Regions from separate parts of the Homo sapiens genome. Here all the other regions are linked to region 1. The links are contacts of gene promoters, found by promoter capture Hi-C in blood cells and fetal thymus (Javierre and others, 2016). All regions are on one chromosome and are shown on one strand. The core of a region is centred on a gene start or on the middle of the fragment in contact, and the rest is flanking DNA. Distances in the headings are between cores, read along the strand shown.

Region 1 (3,119 bases), core at 332-2,831:
ATGGATTTTGTGATCGCTTGCAAGTGAGTAACTGCAATTTTGGGAATTAACCAAAGGGCTGAGCTGCCCAGTCTTTTCATTGCCACTCAGGTTCTACGAAGCCCAAAAAGTTTTCTGGGAGATACTGGTCCAAGGACTCTGTGGACCTTTCCTTTGATGTGTGAGTATTCAAAGAATCCTTTTGCCCCCTGCAGCCCCTTCTGTCTCTTGCTAAAGACAATTGTCTTTAGTTATCACTGCGAGGGAGCTTTCCCCATGCCAGCTGGAATCTTGGGAGGCAGGACACGACTCCAGATCCTCGGGCTGAATAGGGAAGCCAATGCTATCCCTGCCCGCTGGAGTCTGGCGACTCCTGCCCTTGTCCCAAACCACACGTTTTCCCGCCTCCCGGGAAGCACCCAAATCTCTTCCACCCTTCCTTAGAGCTAGCCAGGGAGATTCCGCCTTCCAGGGACAAGGACCGATCGGAGCGGGCCCAGCATCTCCATGGCGACTCTGCAAACCTGGCGTTCAAGGCCGCGCGCGCTGGTCCTTGCCCCGCCCCAGGGCCCTGTCTTGGCTCATTCCTTCCGAGCCGGCACCACCTGCAAGCCCGCCTCGGGCCTGGGGCGCCGCGCTCCAGGCGCTGCTACCCCGGTGTCTGCTCACACTATGCCCAATCCCCTATTGTTTTGAAATCCCAAAAGTAACCTCAAGAGGATTTCTTCCTCACACTCTCAGGCCCCCAGCGCACCTTACCCTTTTTATCAAAATAAAACAACCCTCCACCTCTCGCATTTTCAAAGGATTAAGCAGCAATCTCCAGGAAAGAAAATCAATCCCCTCCCCACCATCCCATCCCCAGCCAAGCTACGGCTCCGCCACCACCTCCGAGGCCCGCCGCCGCCGCCTCTCTATCCGCATCCCGGATAGGGGCGCCACCACCCCGCGCGTGACCCCGCTTTCCCGCGGGTACAGATAAAAATCCCCTCACCCTTCCGTAGATGCCATGGTCTGGGGAACGCCCCCTCCTCTTCAGCACTATCCGGCAGCTGTGGGCGAGGGAGAAAGCGGACGCCGGGGTGAGCGCGAAGTGCGGCCGGGAGCGGTATTTAAGAGGAGCCTCTGCCCGCCCTTCCACCCGCCTCCGGGGTAAGCCCTTTAGCGCCTCAACGGGCGCAGGAGGCTCCTGCGGGCGCTAATCCGCGTCCCGGCTCTCCACGGCGCGCGACCCGCGCTCCCCTCCGCCCGCGGGGATGGCGCTTGGCGGGGAGCTCCGGGGGCTCCGAGGGTGGCTTCCCCGAGAGAGCGATGCGCCCAGGGCTGCAGGAGGGCGCACGCCGGCGATGCGCCCCTGCAGCCGCTGCCACCTGTGCTTTGCTGCGGGGCTCGCGGGCGCGGCGAGTGGCGGGAGCAGAGAGTGGTGGCAGAGGACGGTGAGCGTGCGTGCGCGTGTGCGGGTGTGTGCGCGCCTGGGGAGGCGGTGGAGGCCGCTGCGCTCTGGCTCGGCGCCGGCCAGGGAGGGATTGCAAGGTTTAGCCCCGCCGGAGCTGGGGATTTGCAGGCGATCCCTCTCTATTTTCGTCGAGAGCTGACATCACCCGCGCCGCCGCCTCGGGCAACTCCTTTAACCGCCGCCCCCCGCCCCCATCTCCAGTCGCGGTCCCTCCTCTGCCATCCCTCCCCCCAGCCTCTCGCCATAAATTAGCCAAATAAGAAAAGAGGCCCCGCCGCTCGTCCGGGAAGGCTTGGGCAGCCGGTGGCAGGAGCCCAGGATCTAAGGAGTAGCTATTGTTTCCCCTGAAGCCCGCGTGGCCCCAGGTCACCCCGTGCGGGGTGAAGCGCAGGCGACCGCGCGGAGACCCGGGATGCCCCTCCGTCTCCGCCTCCCTGGAGCAGCCCCTGGCGCTCCCTCCTCACTCCCCGGAGCACCCGCTTCAGCTCACACTCACCCCCAAACTCACAGGCAGGCACACCCACCCCATCCTCCCACGTCTGGGGGTCCCAGGTCCAGCGGAGTCGAGCGGCTGAAACACGCGGGTGGTGCAGCCTAAACGCGGCCCAGCTGCGCTCCCTCCCCCGCCGAAGCTCGAATAAATCTCTGGCCTTCAATTATTCAGCGAGATTAATATTAATGCAGCTCCCTGGGGGCGGCGGGCGGGGTGCAGGGGAGGCCGGGATTTTTTTTTTTTTTTTTTAGGCCGAGAGAGGTCGGCCTCGTGGGTGCCGGCTGAGAAGGCGCGGAGAGTTGGCCGAGGGGTGAGTGGCGGGGGACGGTTCTCCACCCACTCGGCGCTGCTCGCCGCCTGCTTCCGTGTCCCGGGGGCGGCGCACAGAGACAGATGGGCTTGTGCAAGGGAGAGTTCGAGCCTTCCGGACGCCTTTGCATAAAAATGACGAGACCTGTGCAGCTTTGATTATCTCTGGAATACTGCAGGAACCTAGGGTCCCACTACTTGCCGACCCTGTGAGCGCAGAGCAGGCAAAGCCTCACTTTCCTCGTCTAGGCAATGGAACCCAAAAGAACTCACTTGGAGGGCCACAGGAGAATTAAACAGACTCTCTTTTTCCCCGGGGTAGACGATCTTCGGATTTGCGCTGTGCTGGACCTTGTTAGACGATGGAACGCGACCGGCCACGTGCAAACTCTCTGAGTAGGTCCCGGGGATGGTGCCAGAGGAGCCGGAGTCCCAGCAGGACCGATTGGTAGTTAAATGCCAGGCGCTGATATCCGAAGGCTTGAGTTCTTCACCACCTTCTAGCTGAGTAACCTGGGGCAAATTCCTCCATCTCTCTCTTCATCCCACCTGTAAAATGGGACTATCTTCTCCCACTTCTCTGTGCTAAGAGAACTAAATGAAATGGAGAGGATATGTAAAACTCCTAAAGTGGCGTCTGGCACCCAGTAAACCCTCCAAAAATATTCAGTGCATTTTCAGAGTCCTTAGAAGATAGTTTATTGGACAAAATATCCAAGTATGAACAGACAGATGAGAAAAATAACAAGAAAAAGAGGGGAAAACACATTAATAAAATTTAAAAAATAAATCTCTGCTTACCTCCTTCCTTTACTCTCCTTTCCAAAATCTGAATCCAAACGTCATCTTCCATCCATGCCTTTCTCCATCTCTCCCCTCCCC
Region 2 (3,119 bases), core at 272-2,771, 440 kb before region 1:
ACAGAACGAGACCCTATCTCTACAAAAAAATTGAAAAACTAGTCGGGCAGATGGCATATGCCTGTAGTCCCAGCTACTTGGGAGACTGAGGTGGGAGGATTGCTTGAGCCCAGGAGTTGGAGGTTACAGTGAGCTATAATTGCACCACTTAATTCCAGCCTGGCTCATAGAGCAAGACCTGTCTCCAAAAACAAAAATGAAGTGCACAAAGGTTGAAATTTCTCCACATTTTTGCCAATACTTGTTATTTTCTGGTTTTTGATAGTAGTCACCCTAATGGATATATCTTTATCATTTTTAAGAATTATTTTTGCTGGATATAGATTTTTCAGTTAATAGGGGTTTTGTTTCAGTTCTTTAAATAAAGATACTATTTCTTTATTTTCTGTCTTAGAATGTCTGCTGCCGTTCTTAATATTTGTTCCATTGTATATGATGTTTTCCACCTGTCTGGTTGCTTTCAAGATTTTTGCATTACCAATTTGGCTATTGTATGCCTAGATTTTTTTTTCTATTGTATTTACTGTTTGGGTTTCTCTCAGCTTCTTAGATGTATGGTTTGTTGTCTTCCTTTAATTGTGAAAAATTTCCAGTTATTTTTAATGATATCTTCTGTTCCATGTGGTTTCTCTTTGGGGCTCCAATTTTAAATGTTAGACTTTTTGAATTGCCCAAAGCTCTTAAATGCTCTATTTTTTTTGTTCATTCTTTTTTCTCTTTATGTTTCATATTGGATAATTTTTGTTTACCTAGCTTCAAGTTCACTGATTTCTTAGCTGTGTCTGCAAAGCTTAGCAAAATATATATTTTTTATCTTGGTTAGCATGGATTTTCCCCTCTGGATTTCCAATTGAATGTTTTTTTAGTTTCCATTTCTCTGCTGCTAGTCGCCATCTGTTTATGCATGTTGTACCATACTCTGCCCTCTTTACTCCTGTACTCTGACAGTGGGTATTTACTTCCTGTGTTTGTCTCTCCTCTGAGTGGATTATCACTCTTTGGCATTCAGTTCACCTGTTTGCTTTGTAACCTCCGCTCCCTAATGAGCTCAAGAAAAGTTACGATTTTGTAATTTATCCTGCTTTTTCTTTCACCCTGTCAGGATGGGAACAGCTTTCTTTTGCAACTTTCTACATCCCAGGTGAAAGCAGGACTTTTATCAGTTTATATACAGAGTTTCAAGATTTCATATAAAGACAACTTGAGAGCTTTTAAAAGTTCAAGGAACTAAATGGAAAGCTATTTTAAAGAAAGTGAGAAGTTTCTAAAAAATGAACCCTGGAAACACTCCTGTAGTTCTCAGATCATACTTGCTTAGTCATGATATAGAGGTTAATATGGGAATCACTTTCCTGTTTTCTTACTCTAATAAGGCAGAAAACAGTAATATTTCAGAGGAGATATGGATTAGTTTATTATCTTTGCATGGTCCAGTTTTGGTACACCTTGGTAATTAGGAATTTTCTTAAAAATCTTTACACCCCACATTATCTATCTTCACTCCTCTTTCTCATATAAAGTTACAATACATAACATTCTGTATGCATGCTTCACACTTTGCTTTTCTGTCTTGACAATGTGTAAATGAGAATGTTTGATATTACCTTACAAACTGTTTTCTACTCAGTAAATGTAACAGCATCTCCTTTCAATATGTTTGGAAAATCTCCATTATAAAGAGTTAAAAATAAAGGAATTCAAAGAGAAACCTACTTTACACATGTTAGATTTGAGATGCTTGTAAGCGATGCAAGTAGAAATTTCATGTGAGAAGTTGGATATACAAGTCTGAAGCCTCAGTATCTCAGAATTAGAGGTAGAATTTGGAAGAGTCATCATTATATAAATGGTATCAAAACCTTGGAATTGGAACTGGAACTTCTAGCCTGGGGAGATGCCAACATTGAGAGGAAAGGAATAAAAATGAGTGAGTGGGCAGAAAGTGGAAGAAAACCAGGAGAGTATAGTGACATAGGAGCCAGTAAAAGAATATATTTCATTCAACTCAAGAATGTTCCTAAATGTGGGAGTATGCTGAATACAGAATTTTAAGTGAGGACTGTGGACTTAGGTGGTAGGTTTGGGGGTCATTAGCTGGCAGATGGTTTTAGAAGTCTTCACTGTGAATACCTGTGGGTAAGTAGATAAAGTGAAGAGAAAGCTGAGAGAGCCATGAAAGGTAAGCAGAGTAAGTTCATGAACTGTTACATTTGAATTTGTACAAACCAAATCTTTCTATGTGGTTATCATTAAAAGCTTGTAAGCACTGTAAGTCCATTTATATTTCTATTCCTAAAGGGGTTTTAAGCAAAAATGTTTATATATTTCTGGAATTCTGAATTAGAGGAGCTTTGATACTTTGCAGCTGACAGTTATCGTGACAGTTTGACAGTATTTAGGTTTATGGTAATTCATCTAATCCCTTTCTGTAGTCTCCAGGATGCCTTTGGAATGAGCTGTTATTCACCTAAAATTCCGTGATACTTTAGTAATAGGATAGGTTTTTTGCCACATACCACTGACTAGATCTAGATCTTAGAGTCTTTTTCTATAAGCTCTTGCAAGAAAGAATCAAGTGTTGTTTACATTTTCTAACACTGTTATACCCAGTGGCAAATGCAAAGACATAAACAAATACTTTAGTTATGATCAGCTCGTAGGAAGTGGGAGGACCCCAGCTTTATCTTAAAATCATTATGTATACTGGAAAGAAATTGATTCAAATGCATTCACCATAAAACTATGGATGGAGAACCTCATTTTATTAATCACACTAGGACCTATGCCAGCATTGCTTCATCTTTGGCTTTTGTTATATCCTGTTTTGTTAAGTTAAAAAGCAGTTAAATTTTTTTTCACCTACACCCCATTAGTAAAAAGAAATTTTCGAACACTTTCCCATATGTGTATATATAACTGTTTATATATAAAGTACCTACATGTATCACTGTTCTAGTATAATCAGTATGTTATAAAGCATACAGAGAATAAGGGTATTTGAAAAGAACGAGGAAGAAAATGAATCATCTTGTAAACTTCCTGACTGCACACACCACAGAGAGATCATTTGTCTTTTTCGAGACATAGGAGTTAGTTCTTTTTTTCTGATTATGCTTGTA
Region 3 (3,119 bases), core at 448-2,947, 420 kb before region 1:
TGCCATTTTTCACACACACACCCCTTGCTGGTTTCTTGATTGGGATTGCATTAAGTCTTTTGATGATTTGAGAATTGACATCCTTACAGTATTGAGTATTCTAACCTGTGAATATGGTAGAAACCATTGTGTATTCAGTTATTTGATTTCTTTCAGTTATGTTTTATAATTTTCTGTGTAGAGGTCTTGTATATGTTTCATTAGATTTATTCTTTGGTATTTGTTTTTTGATACTATTATAAATGGTATTGTTTTAAATTTTTATTTTCTAATTATAGCAACTTGTATGTAGAGTCATGTGCCACTTTATGATGGGGATATGAGAAATGCATTGTTAGGCAGTTTCATCATGCAAACATCATAGAGTGTACTTACGCAAATCATGCAAACATCATAGAGTGTACTTACACAAACCTAAATGGTACATGCTGCTACACACCTTAGCTGTATGATATAGCCAGTTGCTCCTAGACTGCAAACCTATACAGCATGTTACTCTACTGAATACCGTAAGCAGTTGTGACACAATGATGAGTATTTGGGTATCTAAACATATCTAAGCATTTTTAAAATGTACAGTAAAAATGTAAAAAGTAAAACATGGTACACCTGTTTAGGGCACTTACCGTGAATGGAGCTTGCAAGACTAGAAGTTGCTCTGGAAGAATCAGTGAATGAGTGAATGCTTAGGACATCACTATACACTACTGTAGACTTTATAAACACTGCACACTTAGGCTACACTAAATTTATTTTTAAAATAAAGTAATTGCAATATGATGTTATGACAGCTATGATGCCACTAGGCAGCAGAAATTCCTGAGCTCCATTATAATCTTATAAGACCACCGTTGTATATGTGATCCTTCGTTATGTGGGACATGACTCGATATAAAATGGATTGTTATATTGACCTTTTATCTGATGACTTAACTAAATTTACTTATTAATTTTACTAGTTATCTATAGTCTCATTTTTCCTGTGTACACAATTAATTTATTTGTAAATACTAAATGTTTCCTTTTTTCATTACTCATATATTTTTTTCTTGCCTTACTACACTGCCTAGTAAAATATATAAAATATGTGCTTCACGGAAAGGGGACTTTGATTAAGGACATGCCTCCTTCAGAGCTTTTTCTTTTCCCCCTAGTATTTCCAACTTGGGGATGTTTGGCATCGACGAATTTACTGCAGTGATTAACCCTCCTCAGGCCTGCATTTTGGCGGTTGGGAGGTTCCGACCTGTGCTGAAGCTCACTGAGGATGAAGAGGGAAATGCCAAACTGCAGCAGCGCCAGCTCATAACAGTCACAATGTCAAGTGACAGTCGAGTGGTTGATGACGAACTGGCAACCAGGTTTCTTAAAAGTTTTAAAGCAAACCTAGAGAATCCTATCCGACTTGCCTAGTCCTCAAAGATAAGAAGTTGGTGTTCAGCTTAGTTGATTCAGTAGTTGTTACCAAGAAACATATGTTATAGGAAAACAACTTGGTATTTAAGTATGAAGTGGATGAAATGTTTATTTATTTAAGGTGAAAGCATTTGACCCAGGGTGTCTTCATCTTCAATTTGGGTTTAATGTTATAGAAATAAATGATGATAAACTCTAACTAATAAAGGAAAGAGAATATTTGGTTACTCAGATCCATTTTTAACCTCTGGTGCTGTATAAAGGGAATATTAAACTAGATGTAAATCAAAGTATATGTTTGGCTCATTTGAGCATTTTGGAATATTTGAGAATGTATGATACATGTAAAATTAAAAAAACTATTAGAACTGTACCATAATTATGTTGAAGGTAGAAGTGATCTTCAAAGAGATGGCCATTAACTTAGCAGTGGGACCTCACTTTTACAAGCACTGCTCTAGATATACTTGAAGAATTTAATAGGTACAGAAGTTTATTCTGGATAATAAATAAATAAGGATCACACTGTATTAGGGGTTATGGCAACATTATTGAATTTTTTATGTACATAAAGCCATATGTTTAGGGTGGTTTCTATCTGTCTTGTTTTTCACTTATATAACACTGTGAACTTCTAAAGCAAGAGGATAAAAGAAGCATGAATGAAAAGAATGACATTTCAAAAAAATGGTTCAATGAAAAACTATAGCTAAAATATGTAAACCTTTCTAGGTAAACCGCTTGCCTTCATCTTGAGTCGGAATATATTTAAATAAATTGTGTTATCTCTTGCCAAACATTTTGTTAGTGTTTATTTAAAAACAAAATGTTGTTTCTTAATGCATTTAAATCAGTTTTGTATTGTGCAGTAAAATGTGAGAAAATATAAACATTTCTATTGTATTTTAAATGTTAAAACACAAAAGTTCAATAAACCTTGAAGTTGATTAGTAGTTTTTCTAGAACACCTTTAAAAGGGCTCTACAGGAGAAAAGACGGAATTTAAAATTAGTATGACATTAGGAAAGTAACTGATAGGAAATGTAAAACTTTGGAAAGAGAATAGAAGACTTATGAAGCCAAACAGATGAGAACTATCCTTTTTATTTCACTAATATGAAATTTTCACTAATTATTATAAAGTTTAGAAGAGTTTGTTTCTCTCTTTTGGCAGCTCTGCTATAACTGTCAAGATAACTATATTTAAGTTGGATGGTAATGAATGGTAATTTAATTAACTTGTCACAAAAAGGTTTATGTTAGTGTCAGCTGACATGAATCAATAGAAGAAAGGCTAATATAGTACAAGTTGTATGGTATGACATGATGAATTATAAACCCTAACAGAAGAGCCTTCTAAAATAATTAGCACCCTGGTGTATTAATTGTTAAGAAAATGCTTAATCCAACTATCCAACTCAGTTTAACAAGCCATTTAAAAAAAATAGTCTTCAAAACTTTTGTCATATTAACAGTTACACTGAAAATTATAACCAAAGGCTATTTTCAAAATAATTTTTATGTTACATTATTTCCAAGGTCAGTTTTAATCGAAATTATTATTATTATTACTACTTTTTCTTGAGATGGGGTCTTGCTCTGTGGCCCAGGCTGTAGTGCAGTGCTGGGATCACAGATCACTGCAACCTCGACCTCCTAGGCTCAAGTGATCCTCCTCCCTCAGCCTCCCGAGTAGCTAAGGA

What was found. Contacts are between HindIII fragments. The CHiCAGO score rates a contact against its expected background, and 5 or more counts as called.
Region 2: a contact is called between a fragment that was not itself captured here and the fragment with the promoter of SLC1A2 in region 1, in 4 of 17 cell types (naive CD4 T cells, M2 macrophages, M1 macrophages and 1 more). The highest score is 6.1, in naive CD4 T cells.
Region 3: a fragment that was not itself captured here is called in contact with the fragment with the promoter of SLC1A2 in region 1 in 2 of 17 cell types (M2 macrophages and M0 macrophages); the score reaches 6.6 in M2 macrophages.

What each region holds. Positions count from the first base shown.
Region 1 is chr11:35,417,977-35,421,095 of GRCh38, forward strand. It overlaps SLC1A2 (solute carrier family 1 member 2), which reads right to left and starts at 1,582. Exons shown (of 11, transcript NM_004171.4): 1 at 974-1,582. The coding sequence starts at 990. It overlaps SLC1A2-AS2 (SLC1A2 antisense RNA 2), which reads left to right and starts at 1,081. Exons shown (of 2, transcript NR_186310.1): 1 at 1,081-1,131; 2 at 2,560-3,026. RefSeq lists an enhancer at 1,228-1,728. The HindIII fragment of the contact is 13,046 bases long and covers 1-3,119 here.
Region 2 is chr11:34,974,722-34,977,840 of GRCh38, forward strand. All of the region lies in intron 7 of PDHX (pyruvate dehydrogenase complex component X), which reads left to right. Among named protein-coding and RNA genes, the nearest start is that of MIR1343, 34 kb to the left of the region's middle. The HindIII fragment of the contact is 1,466 bases long and covers 789-2,254 here.
Region 3 is chr11:34,993,760-34,996,878 of GRCh38, forward strand. It overlaps PDHX (pyruvate dehydrogenase complex component X), which reads left to right. Exons shown (of 11, transcript NM_003477.3): 11 at 1,155-2,369. The coding sequence ends at 1,413. Among named protein-coding and RNA genes, the nearest start is that of MIR1343, 53 kb to the left of the region's middle. The HindIII fragment of the contact is 5,121 bases long and covers 1-3,119 here.